Linked DNA regions of Homo sapiens: all the other regions are linked to region 3. The links are contacts of gene promoters, found by promoter capture Hi-C in blood cells and fetal thymus (Javierre and others, 2016). All regions are on one chromosome and are shown on one strand. The core of a region is centred on a gene start or on the middle of the fragment in contact, and the rest is flanking DNA. Distances in the headings are between cores, read along the strand shown. Region 1 overlaps RO60 (Ro60, Y RNA binding protein). Region 2 overlaps LOC105371664 (a long non-coding RNA gene). Region 3 holds the start of RGS2 (regulator of G protein signaling 2). Region 4 overlaps GLRX2 (glutaredoxin 2). Region 5 overlaps RO60 (Ro60, Y RNA binding protein).

The links. Contacts are between HindIII fragments. The CHiCAGO score rates a contact against its expected background, and 5 or more counts as called.
Region 1: a fragment that was not itself captured here is called in contact with the fragment with the promoter of RGS2 in region 3 in 12 of 17 cell types (monocytes, total B cells, total CD8 T cells and 9 more); the score reaches 12.8 in monocytes.
Region 2: a contact is called between a fragment that was not itself captured here and the fragment with the promoter of RGS2 in region 3, in 3 of 17 cell types (total B cells, fetal thymus and naive B cells). The highest score is 6.5, in total B cells.
Region 4: a contact is called between a fragment that was not itself captured here and the fragment with the promoter of RGS2 in region 3, in 10 of 17 cell types (monocytes, total CD8 T cells, activated CD4 T cells and 7 more). The highest score is 12.7, in monocytes.
Region 5: a contact is called between a fragment that was not itself captured here and the fragment with the promoter of RGS2 in region 3, in 5 of 17 cell types (neutrophils, monocytes, naive B cells and 2 more). The highest score is 8.7, in neutrophils.

The regions. Positions count from the first base shown.
Region 1 is chr1:193,063,292-193,067,395 of GRCh38, reverse strand. All of the region lies in intron 1 of RO60 (Ro60, Y RNA binding protein), which reads right to left. Among named protein-coding and RNA genes, the nearest start is that of RO60, 5.7 kb to the right of the region's middle. The HindIII fragment of the contact is 6,967 bases long and covers 1-4,104 here.
Region 2 is chr1:192,539,059-192,543,207 of GRCh38, reverse strand. All of the region lies in intron 4 of LOC105371664 (a long non-coding RNA gene), which reads left to right. Among named protein-coding and RNA genes, the nearest start is that of RGS1, 35 kb to the left of the region's middle. The HindIII fragment of the contact is 1,260 bases long and covers 2,156-3,415 here.
Region 3 is chr1:192,806,752-192,810,872 of GRCh38, reverse strand. It overlaps RGS2 (regulator of G protein signaling 2), which reads right to left and starts at 1,834. Exons shown (of 5, transcript NM_002923.4): 1 at 1,692-1,834; 2 at 606-707; 3 at 442-503. The coding sequence starts at 1,801. RefSeq lists silencers at 581-640, 2,148-2,357, 3,294-3,383 and an enhancer at 1,598-1,817. The HindIII fragment of the contact is 4,593 bases long and covers 618-4,121 here.
Region 4 is chr1:193,099,025-193,102,748 of GRCh38, reverse strand. GLRX2 (glutaredoxin 2) reads left to right here. Exons shown (of 4, transcript NM_197962.3): 2 at 1,545-1,608. Among named protein-coding and RNA genes, the nearest start is that of GLRX2, 4.5 kb to the left of the region's middle. The HindIII fragment of the contact is 777 bases long and covers 1,289-2,065 here.
Region 5 is chr1:193,083,329-193,087,218 of GRCh38, reverse strand. It overlaps RO60 (Ro60, Y RNA binding protein), which reads right to left. Exons shown (of 9, transcript NM_001173524.2): 9 at 1-2,640. The coding sequence ends at 2,488. Among named protein-coding and RNA genes, the nearest start is that of GLRX2, 20 kb to the left of the region's middle. The HindIII fragment of the contact is 6,162 bases long and covers 1-3,890 here.

The DNA.
Region 1 (4,104 bases), core at 400-2,899, 260 kb before region 3:
TAAAATGGTGAAACCCCGTCTCTACTAAAAATACAAAAAATTAGCCGGGCGTGTTGGCAGGCGCTGTAGTCCCAGCTACTCAGGAGGGAGGCTGAGGCAGGAGAATGGCGTGAACCCGGGAGGCGGAGCTTGCAGTGAGCCAAGATCCTGCCACTGCACTCCAGCCTGGGGGACAGAGCGAGACTCTGTCTCAAAAAAAAAAAAAAAAAAAGAAAGAAAAAAAATTTTTTTTTCTCCTCATCACAGGAAAATCACACTCATTTGTGGGGATAGAATCACAATGCAAACTGTAGTTAAGTGCTGTAGTAGAAAAGTATTATGAGTGAGCAAGGGAGTATAAAATAATATTGTCTCAATAATCCAGAAAGATTTGTGCAGAGAAGGCAAATTGTGATTAAGTGCTGTAGTGGAAAAGTGAGTGAGCAAGGAAGTATAAAATAATACTGTCTAAATAATCCAGAAGGATTTGAGCAGAGAAGGCAAACTAAAAAACTGATAAAGTTTAGGGAAGGCGCTCCAGGAAGAGGTTTCTGAAATCTCGATCTGTCTTTATATTCTAGAAAAGAAACTGTCTAAGCATCCTGTAGAGCCATAAAGACATGTTGACAGATACGGTCATAACTTAAAGAGGAACACAAGATAAAAGAAGTTTTGTTCTGAAGATCATGCTTACTTGAACATGTTTATATATTACAAGGAAGGCTAAGGATAGAATCTTGGTGAATATTAACCATTAAAAGCTAATGAGAGAAAGGCCTTTTAAAGAGAGACGGAAAAGGAGGTGCACAGAGTTGAAGAAAACCGACAGAGAATAGTATCATGGACTACAAGGAAGAGAACTTCAAGGAGTGAATGGTTGGTAATTTCAAATGGTCAGAGGAAAAGTAAATAAAAGGCTAGAAAATGACCACTGGGTTTAGCAAGTAGGAGTGACTAGTGAGAGCAACTGCAGTAGAGTGGTATAAGAAGTAGCTTGATTACAGTGAGATCAGGAGAATATGCAGTGAGGAAGAAACTTCACAGCTAGACTACTCTTTTGTAGACACATACTTATAAACTATGAAGGAAAGTAAAAGAGGATGGGACTTAGAGAAAAAATCTTTTTACCTTTTTCAATGGGAAGATGCTAACATTGAAAGATTCAATTTGGAGAGCTGAAGATACAGTAGAGAAGGGGGATAACTGAAGGAATTTCTTAAAGAAATGAGAATGAGCTTAGAGCATCCAGGTTGAGACTGGCCTACTGACAGCAAGAGATATTTCCTTTATCTTTTAAGGGTAAAGAGTATAGGTAAAGATAGATTTGAAGGAATGAGGGATAAGGAAACTGAAGACATTCCCCCCTGACAGGAGATGTAGAATGCCAAATGGTATGTGGAGAAGTTTGGTAGAGAGGGGAGGAATGAAAGACTGGGTCTCAGAGAGGGGAACACATAGTGGTGTAGGGATAAGTGCATGGGAGAATGAAGAGCCTCACATTTTGAATGTGACTGAGGGGGACAGTGATCTGAATTGTGTTCGGAATATTAGTGTCAATATTCCAAATAAGACGCTAGTATAAATTTGCTTATGTTAGTGGAAGCCTAGGTCTCAGGTGGCATCAGAGATGTAATGATCATATTAGTCATTAGGGACAAATTCATAGTTACTGAATACAGCATAGGTTGAAACTCCTGTTGCAGTGGATGCCTGTTCTCCTATTTATTATTATCCTCTTTTCAAATTTGGCTTTTATCTCTACCTTTCGATCCAAAACACTTTAAGAAGACTAACATGCTTCTCAAAGACTGATACCTTAATTGCCAATTCCAGTAGACAATGTTATGTTTTTCTGATCTTTACATTACATAGACTTTGCTAGTCTCTCCCTCAGCTTTCATAAAAACAGGCTCTGGTTGCACTTCAACCTGTCTACTTCTGCTTATTAGTTTTATTTGTTAGATGAGTAACACTGAAATGACATCTAATATCAGATAATTCTACTAAACTTGCTTTCCTGCACCAAGGCCCAAGTGGTGGGATTTAAAAGGTCCCAAACCAAACCTCAAAATTCCCTCTCCCCTCAAATTCTTTTCCTTGTATTATTCATTGTGACCACATGTAGCTACATTATTGGTTCCCTTGAAAGTAGAAACCAAATCTTATCATTTTTGTCTCCTCTTTTGTATTGCTTTTATGTAATTAGCAATACATACTTAAAGCCAAATATCATTAAAGTTGACTTTCTGAACCATTTGCCAAATAATTATGCACAATTGGTTTCTCTTTCCCATAACACATTTTGAGAATAAAAGCCTCAATATTTATAATGCAAAATATAATACAAGTCTTTAAGATAAATTCTGTAATCAGAATGATAAATGTACTATATGCAGGTAGTGAAAAATATAATCAAGAAAAAATAAAGTTCTAAAGAAAAGTAATGAATACTGAGTAAAAATGTCATCTAAGAACAAAATTTCTGTTTTTCTAACATATTTAATATTAGGTATTCAGGTACTTCTCTAGAGCAAGCAGCAAAATGAACTTTTAAATCTATGAAGGATGTCTAAGAGGTAATCTCTAAGTATAATCCTTATAATCCCTATTAGAAGAAATAAAGTTACTTATTCATGGACTCTTCCTTTTGCATGTTATGATATAAATGACAACCCTGAGGACATACCCTTTCAGTATTTCTGCAGCAGAAACTGCTCAGGTTTTCCTATGCTTCTGTGACTGTACTTTCCAGAGTGCAACATAAAACAGTGGAACAGATAACATTATTAGCAGCCAGGGCACCTTCCTACTTGATTATATAAATTTACCAGGGTCATATTCATATTTTAAAAGACAGAAAACAGAATAACATGTCCCAAGTTACTCTCCTTCTTGTCACTGAGTGTGATACACACATAAACTCAAAATTCGGCAAAGTGATGTGATACTGTGGCATCTTATAAGAGAGAGTACCTGGTCTTTGGACATAATACCCAGCAGAAAGTTTCAAAAACCCGTGGTATTTCCTGAGAAATAGGAGTGTCTTTGTTACATTAATGAGGCAACATGGGCCCCTAGGTAGCTTCAGGATGGGGGCTAATCACTAGAAAGACCAACTATATGTTTAGAGGAATAAACTGGTCAGGCCAACCTTCCATGAAAGGAGGAGGACTTGAGATCAAGTTCAGCCATGTAGCTAATGATTTAATCAATCATGCCCATGTGATGAAACCTCATAAAAACTTTCTTCATCGATACTCAGTGGAGCATCCTTGGTGAACAAAAACTGATGTGCTGGGAAGGTGATGTGCCCACATTTCACAAGGATGGGCATGGAAGTTCTGCATCCTTCCCTTGCCCCAGACCTTGCCATATGTGTCTACTTCCTGTTTGGCTGTTCCTGAGTTGTATCCCACATTTCACAAGGATGGCATGGAAGTTCTGCATCCTTCCCTTGCCCCAGACCTTGCCATATGTGTCTACTTCTTGTTTGGCTGTTCCTGAGTTGTATCCCTTATAATAAAACTGTAATTGCAAGTAGAGCACTTTCAGTGAGTTATGTGAGTCATTCTAGTGAACTATCAGCCTTGAGGGGATTATGGGAAGTCTTGAATTTGTAGTCCGCAGGGCAGAAGTGTGAGTAGCCTGGGGACCCCATTTACAGCTGGTGTCCAAATTAATGGCATTCTTAGTGGGGACCTTGTCCTTTAATTTGTGGGATCTGATGCCAACCCTGGGCAGCTAGTGCCAGAACTAAACGGAAGTGGGGGACACCCAGCTGATGCTACAGAATTAGTGTTGGAACGCAGACACCAAAGGCAAAAGTGACAAAATAAAAAAATAAACTGGACTTTATCAAAATTTAAAACTTGTATTTCCAAGGACACCATCAAGAAAGTGAAAAGACAACCCAAGAAAAAGGAAAATATTTGCAAATCATACATACAATAAGTGACTTGTATCTAGAATATATTAAGAACACTTACAACTTAATAATAAAATGATAAATAACCCAAGTAAAAATAGGCAAAAGATGTGAATATTACTCCAAAGACACACAAATGGGTAAAGAATCTGAAAAGGTGTTTTTCCAAAGAAGATTATCAAATGGCCAGTAAACACATA
Region 2 (4,149 bases), core at 1,536-4,035, 270 kb after region 3:
TAATAACACCCGAAAGTGGATTCTCATAGCTACAAGCTAGGTATTGACTCTTGACACCCAAGAACCTGTGGAATAGGTGCCGGCAGTTTACTCTAGAAACACCTTATGTTTCCACAACTTTACATGCAAACAGAAATAAGAAGATAGCTTTGACCTTGCTGCTTGCTTCCAAATCTTCTAATAAACAGAAACTAACTTGCATCAGAATACTAGCTACTCAAGTATCTTCATGTCTTTTCATTTTCCTCCCCTCCTTTTCTCTCTTCATCTTTTAAATGTATGAATACATGCTTGTTCCATGAAAAGTGCTAAACATTGCTGAGCTTTAAAAATTATACATGAAATAGGTGAACTCCATGCTTTTATGTAGTCACAGTCTACACAGGGGAAAAAAGAGGATTTACTTGTTGTAAATAAATAAAGTTAAGTGCTGTACTAAAACTGTGCATGCAGGGTTTTGGAAGCATGAAAGAATTTATCTCTAGAAGGAATCAGAAAAGTGGTCATAAACATGGCCCTTATATTGTCTATGAAAAGATGAATATGAGGTTGTCCAATAAGGAGTGTGTTGGGGGCATCCTCTTAGATAGAGGACACAGTCTATTTGAAAATACAGGTTTAAGAAAGTTTGGTGGGCTATGACTGGGTGCAGTGGCTCACTCCTGTAATCCCAGTGCCTTGGGAGGCTGAGACAGGAGGATCACATGAAGCCAGGAGTTCAAGACCAACCTGCTCAATGTAGCAAGACCCTACTTCTAAAACAATTTTTTAAAAATTAGCTGGGCATGGTGGCATGCGCCTATAATCCTAGCTACTTGGGAAGCTGAGGCGGGAGGATTGCTTGGGCCCAGGAGTTCCAGGTTACAGCGAACCCTATGCCACCGCACTGCAGTAGCCTGGACAAATAGAGTGAGACCCTATCACAAGAAAAATAAAAAATAAAGAATAAAAAAAAGTTTGGTGAGCTAAAGGAATAGCAAAATGTTCAATACAGTTCTATTATAAGGATAAGTCGCTCCAATTCTAGAAAATAGTGGAATATAAGAACTTACCTCTAAGTATAAGGCCGTGACCCCTGAAAGAACAATAATAGCTAAATAAATTGCTACTTTGTCTTTCTCCAACATTGCTTTATTGTTTGCTATAGGAATTAGATCTAGGCCAATGAGAGTCAATATCTGCTTTCTTGATAAACATTTTCCCTCTAAGCTTCCAACTCCGTATTTATTTATTAAGCTTAAAGTAACACAGAATGTCTTCATTATTATGCAAATAAATATTTCATTTTTGGATTTATTTAACAAATATCATGTGCCAGTTTTGTCCTGGGAATAGTACTTAGTACATAAGAAAAGCTGATGACTGTGTCTATGACAAGGAATCTTTAGTGAGGAAACAGACATGTAGACAACTTCAATATAAATCAGATAACTGGTTTGAAGGAGTAATGTACAGAATGCTATAGGAACTCAGAAAACAGCTTTCCTATGTCACCTAGAGACAGCAGGGGCCTCATGGAGGAAGCAGCATTTAAGCTGAGAAGCAAAGCCTGAGTAGGAATATTCTAGACAGTTTAATATGTGAGAGTGGAAGGATATTCTAGGAAAAGGAAATAACATTTCATATAACAACTGTTCTCAGTGAGGAGAACATGGGAACGAGATTAGACAGGAACATAGGACCAGTTGGCCACTGACCTCAAAGGGATTTGCAGGTATGAGATCTGTGTGGTAGAAACTACAAGTACTGCAAGAAGTCGGAGAAGGGAGGTTTCTTGAGGTACAGAGATGCCAGCTCTGTGCAGGGAGTAGAATTTGACTAGGACTTGTACTTGGAAAGACTGAAGGGAACATTGCTCCAGGTTTGGTGAGCAATGTGGACCACTGTCCAGAGGTTGTATCAGTGTGGTCCCCCTGTTGGAAAGTGAAATGTATAAACCTGTTTTTAGCAGAGGCACATTTTTGAGATGGTAAAATTAAAGCTGGACATGTTACTGGGACATGTTATCAAAAGCTAAAAATTCTGGGGGTCACTTAAGGCAGTAAGACAGAAAAGTGTAGCAGAAAATGCTGTAGCTGGGAGTCAGTGGATTCAAGAACTGGTGGGGTCTATCGTTGGTTCTGTAATGTTGGAAATATCACCCAGTCCTCAAGCTTCTGGAGCTATAATATATAAAATGAGGATTGTTAAACCTCATACTCTGTAAGGCCACTCCACTTCTAAGTTGCCATATGTGTTTAATAAATAGGGACCTGTTGAAATTTTTAGCGGGTTTTATTGTGCTGTTGTTATTTGGCCTTAAGAAGGAAGTATTAAGTTTAGGGAACTGGGATTTAGATTCAAGGGTTTTGAGTTCAAGTTTTGTTTCTGTCTCTTGCTACCTTCATGACATTGATTAAGAAAGTCATTTAGTCTTCTTGAGACCATTTTCTTATCTGTGAAGCTGGGATGATGTTTGCTTTGCTTAAAACATAGGTTGAGGATCAAATGTGATGAATATATAAAATATTGTGTGTTCTATAAGGTGCTACAGGAAATATTTTAAAAGACATAAAGTGGTAGACTATTATGGTAATCTTATGCGAGGAGATATAATTTGGAGATAAGTAGTACCTATGAGAATAGAGAGCTACAAACGTATAAGACATTTTGAATGAAATATAGATAGAAAATAGATAGTGACTTATCTTACAGGTTGATGAAAATGAGAGATGGAGAGAGTGAAGATGGCAACAGTGACTAAGGAGTGTCGACCACATTTATTTAAAATCTCTGTGCTGGTCACTGTAGAAATTCTATTTTAATGTGAATGGATAGTGTAATAAAGTAAGTTTTTGTGGTCTGGTTCAAAAGTAGGCCAAAATGAAAATTTTACTTGCAAATTTCAAGAAGCAAATGGAAAGAGAACCAGGCCTTAGAATATATTTGCGTTTCTGTATTGCCCACTAATATTTTTGTATAACACATTTTAAGTAATAAAAATCTGATAATTTATTTGTCCACCCTGGAAAGGAAAAAAAGATAAGCTATAAAGCAGTCTAATTTTATCAAACCATTTTTGGATACCTTATAAGTAAAGTCAGAAAACTAGAAGTGAAAAGGGAATGCTTCTAGAAACTGTAGTGAGGTCTGCATCAAATCCTAAGACATGTTTTTGCTCCAGGTTTCCTGCAATTGCTACCATAAAGGGAGCATTTCAGACCCAGTGCTCTGTAATGTGGTTTCTTTCCTCTGGAATTCCTCCAATCCTTCATGAATAGCTGGAGGAATGCAGACCTCTGGAGGCTGTATTTTACAGGTTGCTATGGAACTGTCTAAATATTATGAACAGTGCAGTGGTATATGACATACGACAGCCCAATGCCATGAAATTAGGGCAGCTAGAAATCATTTCCATACCCTTGAAATGTAAGCTTCTAGTTTAAAAGAATGGCATGAATGTTTTTCATAAATAAATTATCCTTTATCACACTAAGTTAGATCCTGGGTGGAGATAGGAAGTCTGGGACTTCAAAAGAGCTTTAGTTCAGAGAGAGGCCTGTAGACCCTAAGAAGCAAATACACAAGCAGGCCAGGGGAGGCCTAGTGAGGGGAAGGAGGAATATAAAACTTCGTAGTTTTCAGGATATAGATTGTAATGTTGATGTTACAAAGAGAACTGCTTTAAAAATCTCACTCCAAAGGTGTGCTTGGAGGTAAACAAGCTAACATAACTTCGGGATCAGGCAAGTCACTTAGAGCAAAAACGGGGCTTCCTCTTTCAACACCCTTTTTTTTGTGCTGTGAGACCCCCAAACTCTCAGCTACTCAGGGTTTGATGCTTGACTTTTTCTCAGATTCCAATAATTGTTTATGAAACCTGATTCAAATTTTAAGTCAGAAGTTACCCACCATAAAACATACCTCCCCCTCCTCCCTGGTTCTACTTAAGTTTCATTTAAATAAGAAATATAGCTCTCTGGGTACAATTTTTTGAATAACAGTTCTGTGAATGCTATTTGCTTCTGCAGGTTATGCCAAAGGCAGTTTCCTCTCTGAATGAATGTTTTTAATGTGCAAATTCAAAATACAACGAGCCTACGTCATAAGCTGCACTAAGTGAACAGAAACTAAGTGCAGCTGGGCTTTGTGGCTTTTCTTGTTTTCTTT
Region 3 (4,121 bases), core at 585-3,084:
CTAGATTTCGCTCAAACCTGTAATTCTCAAAATTTAGCTTTTTAAAGACTAAGATACCAGTAGGCAAAAGGCTTATGTTGGCACTCTGCTGCAAAAATATAAGTACTTTGCTGTCAATGCAAAGTAAATATTTATAGGGGAGCCATAAATTCTCTGGGAACTAAGCCTCTTGAAAACATTGTATGCAATGGAAAAACTGACTCAACCTTAACTATAAGCAACTGCCACTTTAATTTGTTTAGGCTGATTTTCTTCCCCACCTGGAGAGAATATATGCATTTATTTGTTAAACCCTGGGAAATAAAGGAAAGAAAAACAGGCTTTATCCTATAGTGACTGCAGTCTAATCCCCCTCAGGCAAGCTGCTCTTTTGTTAGGTGGACGCAGCCTTTCCAGGCTTTTGCGATGTTAGCAATGGCTCAAGCTCAAGAGTTAACTTACATTTGCTGGCTAGCAGCTCGTCAAATGCTTCTGACCACAGCTGTGCTTCCTCAGGAGAAGGCCTGCAAGAGAGGTTCTGTATGTTAGCTTACGCACATCAGAGTTCCCCTTTTCAGTTCAGCAGCTAACTATTGATATTTGCAAGCACAGGATTCTCAACTTACTTGATGAAAGCTTGCTGTTTGCTTTTTTTGCCGGTTTTGGGCTTCCCAGGAGTAGAGGAATTTTGTAAGAAGTAGCTCAAACGGGTCTTCCAATCTTTTAAACTAAAACAAAAAATTAAAAAGATAATTACTAACTAGCAACACTTGAATATGCTACTGCAGCTGAACGCATTTTTACCAAATAAAGTCACCCAGTAACTAGAGACAAACCGCATAAGGCAAAGCAAGAACTCTTCAAATAAGTCTTATCCACCTAACATTTAAACCTCATGTACTGAGCAGTTTCGTCCATTAATCTGACCGTATCTACTAGTTTTACAACTAAGGGCAGGGCTACCTATAATCACTAGGGTATTTTAAAGAATTGTTAATGAATTTAGTTCAAAAGGCAGACACTATTTCTGGCTCACAAAGGGCATCAGTTTGTTTGCAAGGTTAATTACAATTCCGAGACGTTTTGCACTTTAATGAAAAGGACAGACATGGAACTGTCTGGAGCCGGCCCACGCTTCTCTCTTTAGAGCAGGAGGTTCTGGACCACGCCAGAGACTGTACAAAGAGGTGGGTGACTGATTCCCCTGCGCTCTTCCTTCCCCACCTACGACACTTCTTTTAAGCAGACGCTGCATAACAATTATTTGTTCCACATTCGGACTGGGTGAGATCTGCTCTATAATTAAAAAACAAAAATGGATTTTAAACGAGTATATTCAGAACCAGCAAGAGCATCACCTTCCAGTAGCTGTGTAAGCTGATGAGAACTCATCATGCAACGTATGAATGCTGGGGACGCGCTTCAGCCGCAGGATTCTGATGTCATTTTGAATGCAGGAGGACAAAAAGCCAACCCGCAATTTCTTAGCGCATCAACCACCGCCCTCATATCAACTGTCTCCCTCGGTTCTTAAACTGTACCCGAGCATCACCCAGATTTAACCTTACTTAACAAATTGACCTTTTCGATTTTTTTTCCCTGCATAGGCTCAGGCTAGTTTCCTAACGTCAAAGGCGAGCCCGAAAGTACCGCGTTTGCAGCTTGCAGTGTGGGGCAGGGGGTGGCGGGAGAGGGAAGAAAGCCATACTCACAGGGTCCGTTTCATCTTTTCTCGCTTCTCCTCGCTCTTGTGGCCACTGCCTGCGCTCTTGTCCATGGGTCTGCAGTCGTGTTGAACAGCCAAGAACATAGCACTTTGCATTATCGTTCTCCCGCTGGAGCCCCGGCTGTTTGCGGCTGGGCGTGCGTCGCAGCATTTATGAGGCCTCGGCTTGGGGGCGGGGCCTCGCGGCTCCGGCCCCGCCTCAAGAGGACGCGGATTGGTCGGCTGCAGACTGGCACGGGGATGGGTCAGCGCCCGCCGGCGGCAGTCACGGCTGCTGCCGAAGGGTCTCGAAGCCGGGGCGCTGCTGACGTCTGCGGCCCCGGCTTCTTGCGCACTCGGGCCACATAGCAGCGGCCAGCTGGGGCAGGTGTGGGAGCAGATGGAGAGTCTTCAGTGTGGGCCGCTGCGCACGACCTTTTGCTGAAGCGTGGCGGCCGGGCGGGCTCGAGGGCTTTGCGACGGAGGGAGGGAGCCGAAGTTGGCGGCGGCCCGGCGGGGGCGCCGGCGCTCCCTCACCCACCCTGACGGGCTCCCCAGCCCGAGGCCAGAGCGGCGATTCCCTGGCAGGAGGAGGTCGCCCGCCACGAGGCCGGAGTGCAGTGGCCTGATTTCGAATGAAGAGTGGGATTTTTCTTCCTTTTTTGAGCGCGTTCCCTGACCCCGCGCCTCATTTCTTGTTTGCTGTCCTGCTGTAGGACTCATTCGACACCCCCTGGTCTGTGAACTGAGGCAATGGGGAGACCCTCGCCCGTTTCTCTCTGCCACTTAACTTAAGGAAGGAGTAACCTGAAACGTTGATTGCCCAGGGGCAGGGTGGGATCTGCTCTGCAGCTTGCTGGGGCGTCTTGGAACACTTTGAGAATGAACATTAGGGATTGAACAAGAGAAAGTGACTTTATCAGAAGACAGTGCTTTAATTGGGTTTGCATTTTTGATCACTACTAGGCACGTGGCTGGGTCTGTCTATAGGGTCATTCCTCAGGAGTCCTTGGTCACATCTCCTGCCAAAATAGAAATCACAGATTTCCTTATGGTGGGAGAGAAAGCTGCAGACATAGAGATTTCATAGCTGTAATGCACCAGAATCAGTGAGTTCAAGGAGTCAGGATTTCCTCATGAGTCATTCTTGTTGAGTTAGGATTTACCAGAACATTTAATAACTGGCAAAAAGTAGGGGGGAGAATGAGTTAACAGTTTCCTTGATTAAGTTTTATTTGTTAATTCTTCAAGTATCATCTCTACTCCTGAAGGTTTTAAAACGACTTGATTGGTAAAGACAAATAGATTACCTCAACCACAAAATGAGTTGATTTCGGATAATATTACCAGAACTAGCCAGTGAAATGTTTAAGCGGCTTTGCAACCAAGCTGCAGATATTCTCTCTACTTTGTATTCGACTTCTTAAAAGGAAATTGGAAATAATTAATATATTCTTACGGTGAGCTGCCAGTAGTTGGAGCTCCAAGTTTGACTTGGAGGGCAAAACCTGCAGTTATTATTTAAGACAACAGTTGTGGACTTTATTGTGGAAAGGAAAATCGTGTAGATTTCAGTAATAGATACTTTGAAACATGCTTGTTAACTCTAGGAATGCCATTTTTTCTTAAGCATATGCTCTTCCTCTCCTATGCTTTGCATAATAGTCCTACATCTATTTTCACTTTCTGATGACTCAATACGTATTTATCAGCTGTCTGTAATACGCAGACACTTGCTTTTTCTCACCACTGTAAACCTCAATATATTTTATACTTAGAACCTTAGATGTTAGAATTTACTCATAGACAGTTAAATTCGCTGGCAGGCCAGGAGTTCTGACAAAGAGGCAGCAGAGAGAGAGAGCTGGACTTCTGTCAGGAGACCCAGTTAGAGCCTGGGCTTATCCAGTAAATGCTAAGTAACTGTTGGGACACTAGCTTCACACCTCTTTGAGTCCCAGTTTCTCATCTGTAATAAGAGTAACATGTATTTTCTTGCCAGCCTCATAGGATATTATGTGACTCTTACATGAAAGGTCTTTTCTAAGCTCTAAAGTACTGTACGGAAGTTTATTACTGATTTGCATATGTGTGGCAAAAGGAAATGTTCAAATCATAGCTGTTCAAGATGGAAAAAATCGTACGAGGATTAACTCAGACGTAATTAGGTTATAAATATGTAGGTACTATTAAATATCAAGATGTTTCAATTTGTAGGTACACAAATACACAAGATACACAAATTTGTAGAAGATTAAGCTCATTATAGATATTTAATAAATGCTCACTGGATAATACGTAGGAAAAATAAGGAAACTGATTAACATTTAAACTTTTCAGGCTGGGTATTGTGGTTCATGCTGGAAATCCCAGCACTTTGGGAGGCTGAGGCAGGTGGAAGGCTTGAGCTCAGAAGTTCGAGGTTCAAGCATTCAAG
Region 4 (3,724 bases), core at 428-2,927, 290 kb before region 3:
GGACTACTGTGTAGGGCAGATGTTCATTATCCAAGGATAAGATGTACTGGAAAAAGCTATTAGAGTGGATTCACTTAAAATAAGACTAGTATTTCAGGCCAGGCGCGGTGGCTTACACCTGTAATCCCAGCACTTTGGGAGGCCGAGGTAGGTTGATCATATGAGGTCAGGAGTTCGAGACCAGCATGGTCAACATGGTGAAACCCCATCTCTACTAAAAATACAAAAAATTAGCCAGGTGTGGTGGTACATACCTGTAGTGTCAGTGACTCGGGAGTCTGAGGCAGGAGAATTGTTTGAACCTGGGAAGCGGAGATTGCAGTGAGCCAAGATCACGCCACTGCACTCCAGGCTCGGTGACAGAGCAAGACTCCATCTCAAAAAGAAGACTAATATTTCATGCTATCCAGTTTAAAAAATTCTGCTTGGGACTATTGCAAAAATTAAACAAAACATAAAAAGTAGCTTTATGTTTACATTTAAGAACATTTAAATTTTAAATGCACCCCCAATGAATGAATACAGTATTGATTTGAAGGCAGAATATTTGAGTTTTATAACATAATCACAAGGATAATAGTTTTTTAAATATTTGAAGTTTCAAAAATTCTCTTATTCTTTAGATATTCGAGTAATTCTCTTTTGAAACATCTATTATATGTCATAATCCTCTTGTAAGATTTGTAATTTTACTCTGCAGTTAGTTTGCATCATGGTGTTTGATATTGTTCCAACAGTGCGGTAGGGCCTGGTTGACCAAGAAAGATGAGTGGATGGGGAAGAAAAGGTTCCAGGGATAAAAAGATTTGATGATGATAAACTGGTTGAGTTTTTTTTTTTAGTGATAATTTTCCTGACAATGAATGCTTCCTTTTACAAGCTCCCAATAGCTAGGTTTTGGATAATAAATACTGAGATAATGAGAGGTCCTGTATTCAGGAACTAATAGTAGTAATGTTAAACATTATTGAGCATTTACTATGTGGAAGGCACTTATCTGCTTTCTGCGTATGAATTCATTTAATCTTCACAAAATCCTTTGAGACGTGCCAGTGATTATTGTTTCCACTTTGCAGACTAGGAAATTTGGAGCTATGGCCCATTGCGGTTGAGATACTGTAGCTTCCTCAAAAATCTTTGAAGATTCCCTGCTTCACAGTGTGTTCATAGAGTTTTGGCATGTTTTACTAAGAAAATAGAAACTATATTTTTAAACCAATGGTCAGGTCATATGGCATAGGATGGAATATTTGAAATTTGCCAGTTATAAATAAGAGTGTGTCAAGCTTTAAACACAGTAAATATGATTTTATCAAATAATTAAGGGTGTTGGGAAGCTAGTTACATAAGCACACAGGCCTTTTTGGTTTTAGTGAAACAAATACTTTGTATATTGACATTTTGTACTGATAATAAGTAAAATTTTTTTCTATTTTGTAAGTTTGGCTATATTTGTTTATGAGATTGATTTTTTTCAAATAAAACTCGTGATAAATTATCCTTAATGCTTAATAAACTACATTGTTCTCTTAAATTCCTTTTAGGATGGAGAGCAATACATCATCATCTTTGGAGAATTTAGCGACGGCGCCTGTGAACCAGATCCAAGTGAGTGATGTGGGAGATGATTGAAAAACTTTCCTCTGTAGAAAAAGAATTGTCCCTTATATATTTAATATGCTTATTCAATATCCAAACTTGAGATAGTTTAGCAAATGAATTAAGAGATTAATATTTATTTTAAAATCTGCTATGAAAATCATCCTTGTGACTAAGAAGTCCTAGATCATTTTGGTAATTAAAACGTATGAGATTTATTCTTAATGAAGTCTTCACTCCCTCTAAGTTGGATAATGAGGTTGGCTGCTCCTTTTCATCATACCCACTTGAGGTCTAGTGTTGATACCAGTCAAGCTGCCCTTAGCTAGGGATCCTATTTGATTTTGGCCTGGGAAGCAGTTTAACAGTTTTCTTTGTTAGTACAGAACCTAGTGTGCAGTAGTTACTCCGTAAACCATCCTCTCAGGGATAGGACTTCTTTTCCTCTTTCTTTTACTGAGAAGCTTCGTTAATTCTGCCTTAGAAAATCTCTCTTACATGTATGTTTTTCTTCCCTTGCAACCTACAAGACATACCATTTTTTCTCTCTTGCTTACCACTCACTACTACCACAAACAAAAAAAATGTCTGCCTTTAGTTGATTTGGCTAAACTCCTAGCTGTTGACTATAACTGTGAGGGAATTGCTTTTTTATTTGTTTGTTTTGTTTTGTTTTGAGGCAGCGTCTCGCTCTGTTGCCCAGGCCAGAGTGCAGTGGTGCGATCTCAGCTCACTGCAACCTCTGCCTCCTGGGTTCAAGCAATTCTCCTGCCTCAGCCTCCCTAGTAGCTGGGATTACAGGCGTCCACCACCACACACAACTTATTTTTGTATTTTAGTAGAGATGGGGTTTCACCATGTTGGCCAGGCTGGTCTTGAACTCCTGATTTCAAGCAATCTACCTGCCTCGGCCTCCCAAAGTGCTGGGATTACAAGCATGAGCCACCGTGCCTGGCCTGAATTGCCTCTTTTAAAGTAAAAATACAACATCATGGGATATACAGTTAAGGGCGAGCTTGAGAAGTGGGAAGAGAGTTCTAGAAACCCTAACGCTGTCATCTTTAGTTTCAGCTCACTTTGGAATCTCTTCATCAGTGTCTAATATATGTCAGAGCCCTGGAAGCTCATCTCTCCCTACACGATGGTGTTAGTGTGTCTTGTAACCTGAGGCAGCATGGTGGAGGGAAGAGCACTGGCTTTGGTGTTGTGACAAGGTTGAGTCAAATCCCAGTATTACGAACCACTCAGCCTTAGTTTTGTCCTCCGTAAGATGGATTCATTAATACATCTCTGGTATGGCAGGCCCTCCCTAGGATGGACTTTTATACTAAATATTACTAGTAAACACAAGGGAATCATAAAAATAGACCAACTTGCAGACAGCTGGGCTAAAACTCAGGACCCTTCTGACACCCAAGGGTGGGTATAACTTCTGAAGCATGGGTCTTATACTTTCTGGTTTTTGGCCTTCATCTTGAAGGTACTGCTTATGATCCACCACAAAAGAACAGACTAGACAGGCTGGGCACAGTGGCTCATGTCTTAATCCCAGCACTTTGGAAGGCCGAGGCAGGTAGATTGCTTGAGCCTAGGAGTTCAACACCAGCTTGGGCAACATGGCGAAACCCTGTCTCTACAAAAAATATCGAGGTGTGGTGACACATGTCTGTAGTCCCAGACACTTGGCAGGCTGAGGTGGGAGAATCACCTGAGCTCAGGAGGTTAAGGCTGCAGTGAGCTGAGATCGCACCCTTGTACTCCAGCCTGGACGACAGAGTAAGACTGTCTCAAACAAAAACAAAACAAAACAAAAAAAAACCTAGACAAATGTCTGGGTGCTAAATCTATCCATTCAAAATCTTTTGAAGGTCCCAGGCATTCATATGTTTAGAAACAAAAAACAAAAAGAAAAACTTCATAGGCTGCGTGGATGCATAGCAGAATCTCATAGCCATTGTGGTAAAGGCCTGGAAGGTAGTTTTCAAACCAGGCTGATATCATCATTATATGGAGAGGTTTTTTAAACATACAGTTTTCAACTTCTACCTCAAACTCATTGAATCAGCATTTCTGGAAGTAGCTTTTCCTGAATTAAGAGTATGAGAATACCTTATCAAGAGAGTAA
Region 5 (3,890 bases), core at 1,063-3,562, 280 kb before region 3:
CTATATATGTAGATATATATAGCAACACAGGTTAATTGTGCTTGAGGATTCCTATGAATTACAAGATTATACATGTTCCCATTCTATTTTTCTACTCCTAAAGCAATCGTATATACATTATTTCCTAATAACTCAATAAGGTAAAAGTCTTAAATAATTTTATTTTATCCTCTACTCTTCTGAGACCATGTATTCCCATGTTGTGGGGAAATAAATTCTGGCACAGGAATGAAGAGACCAAGATTTCTAGGTTATAGTACTTCAAAATCACACTCTGTCTTGGACCTCAGCTCTCTAACAAAAATTTAAAAAATTAGCTTTTAGGTTTCTAAGGTTTCTTCCAGCTCAAATATGCCATGATTTGAAAAGTTACCTTCTGTGGTAGCTTCTCCTACTTATCCTTTCTTTCTTAAATGTTACCCTAGTCCATTTAATTAGACCTACCTAAATACTTCAGAAAGGTCATATCCATCCAATCTTGTATCCTTGATGGATTTAATATTAACTTATAGATATATTTGTCTAAAAGTATTATGGAAATAGTACACAACTGAAGGTAATGCACTTTTGTACTATATTCTATTTAACATTTCTATTAGGAATAAAATGATCATGTTATAATTTTTAAGATCTTGGGTTTACTTAAACAATTCAATAACTATTACGTAATTCTATTAGTTTCTTTAAACTTTAAATTCAATCTGAACGTAATATTTTAATGTGTCAAAAGTAGCTAATATATTCAGTTCAATGCTTGACAGGGTTAAAAACGTGAACAACATCAGAAGCAATGCATGTCTGGAGTGGGGGTGAGGGTGCTATGAGCTTTGCTGAACAAAAATATCTCAGGTAAATCACACTTAAAAACTGATACCAGTTGCCTTGAAGGAATGGGTACATATCAAAACCAGCATTAATATGTCAAATAAATTTGAAAGGAATATTTTCTTATTCCCAGAGCCCAAATTTCACATAAAACAGAAGAAAATATGTACAGAAATCCTCAGACTACTAAAGTCCCCCTTTCCCAAAAAACATAAACCCTCTAACCCCCAAGCACCTAAAAGGCTATAATTTACATTAACTACAGTTTGACTTTTCACATAACAGCGAGAAGGACCTTACAAATCCTCAGTAAATCTTCAATTAATATTTAGAGAACAACAGATACGCAAACAGGTTTTATGTGTAAGCTACCTTAGACGGCCATAATAAAATTATGAGCAAAGATAATGGCATTTCAACAGATTGCTTTAATGTTAAACCTCACAATGAAGGATACTTGCTCAATAAAATAATGCACTTTAGTGTAATGAAAAGTTTAATACATACAAATAATACTGAAAAAAATTCCTAGTGACTGGCTAGCTGGTAATATGCTACTCAAAAATTGCCTTTCAAACCTAAAGGACCTAGATTGCTTTATTATTTGTTTACACTATCAAAGAAGAATATTTTGCCACAAAATGAATAATGGACAAAGAGGCCATTGACATGTATACTTTTAAAAATATTAACTAAAAAAATAGTTAAAAGTAAAAAATTTTATTTTAAAAGTAAGGAAAAAGCTAAACTGGTTATAGTTGAGATTTTAATTGTTATACTTTGTGAATGAGGGGGAGTTAAGCGCTTGAAACATTTTATATTATTTACACTTAAGAGTATGAAAAACAGTGTGAGACTACATCTGGCTATGTTATTATAATTCAGAGGAAATCATTATCAAGTCACACCCCTTGTAGCAATAAAATATAACAAAGCAAAAAAAAAAAAGCAAACCAAATAGAATCCCTCAGCCAACACAAACTTAGTCTATTCTTAGGGGTTGCCATGATGTTTCTGATTAATGGTAACATATTCCACAAGTGCAAATAAAACATCAGAAATAAAATATCTTTTTCACTGAATAAGAAAGCTGTTATTTGTGTGATCTTAGTAAAACTCTGAAAGGAATTTGTAAAACTCATTCATAATTTAATCAAATGCCTTAGTTTTTTTTTTTACCCCCTTGGTATAAAAGTTTACAGATGAGTTTCATATTTCATCACAGTTATATGGTCTAGTGCATTTCAGAGTATTTGGACATTATCAAAGCTGTCCTTTCCCAATGAAAACATTTAAGAAAACGTTAAGCACTTCTCAAGTAACATGATGTGGAATTACACTTTTTGCTCTTACCTCTTTTAGGTACACACGTATTATTCAACAAAGCAAAACTATTTTACAGTGTCTGTTAACAAAAAGTTCTCTATTAGATAGAGGAAACTACAGTATCCTGAAGCTATTTCCCCAAGAGCTAGTTTAGTAGATAGACCTTTGGGCCCATCTTATTTTTCCTTCTTTTTTTTTTTTCAGTAAGGTAACTTTCCATTATGCACATACTATACCATCATCATTCATTGGGTGGAGATTAGCTGGGAAGTAGCTGTATATTTTTAGTGAGATCACTGATGGCAATGGATCTCTGGATCGTGCTGCTGCTTATGGTTAAATCATATCTAATGTGAAATTTCGAATTACATCCAGAGCTCCAGTATCAAAGCCGCACATATCCAACATGCCTCTATCATCTGGGTCTGCAATGGTGAAACCATTTGATGTCATTCCACAAACAATCAATTTAGCTGGAATATCCATTTTCTGTAGAAAAAGACCAAAATACATATTAAAAACATAAATGTAAGGAAATGCAAAATACCTCCAAAATTAAAACACTTTAACATTTCTCTACCAGAGCTTTTTAAATACAAAGTCATTTTTTTGCGGGGGTCAATCTTTTAAGGCTAGAATATGGGAGTTTTAGAAGAAGGGACAATAAAATTGTATAAGAATCTGCCTGAAATTTCTACTTCTCTCTTCAATTACTTTACTTGTTCTATGGGCTGCAGTGTACATTATTGAGCAGCCTAGGCACTTTGTACTTATGAAACCTGTCAGGTTATTAAGGGTGCCAGATATTTTTATCAACATATCAAATGCTGGGGCAGTGTGTATGAGTATATATAAGGACATATCTCTGGGATGATCAACTTTTGGCTGATGACTTTGATATGTGCGATATACACATGTTCCACGTAAGAACTTGTCCTCTACAGCTAAATGTAAGATTAAAATAATTGAATTTTTGAGAAAAACCAACAATCACTGAATGTATACACATGAGAAACTACAATGCACTGTTTAAATAATACATCTACCGTAACTGTTAAAACAACTCTAAGAGGTAAGTAACTTACTATGATGTAGATCAGTTAAATAATTTGCTCAGGTCCACACAGAGTAAGAGAAAGACTCGGGACTCACAACCAAACAGTCTTTACTCTACATTCTATCCTGGTTGGGCAGTGCCTCATGGCTGTAATCTCAGTGCTTTGGGAGGCCAGAATTTCAAGTTACAGTAAGCTATGATAGCACCATTGCACTCCAGTGATGGAGACCCCATTTCTTAAAAAAACAAAACAAAACAAAACAAAACTATTCCCTTACCTGCAGCTTTCAAACTTAAGCCTGCATCAGAAATCCTCTGGAGGGCTTGTTAAAACACAGTCCCAACGTCAGAGTTTCTGATTCAGCAGGTCTCTGACGGGCCTCAGGAATTTGCATTTCTAATACGGTCGCAGGTGAGGCTAAGACTGCTGGTAGGGAAACCACACTTTGAGAACCACTACTCTTCATCAACAAGTTCTATTTCTACTTCTAGTCACACTAGCCATATTTTAAGTGCTCAAAAGTCCCATGTGATTAGTGGCAACCCACATTGGAGAGTGAAGATTTATGTCATTTCAGAAAGCTCAACTGGAGGATACTGATTAGAACACAGATATGTCCATAAAACATAGAGCATAGATTATAGCTTTAATTTTATGTAATCCTTTTGCAAAACTCACTAA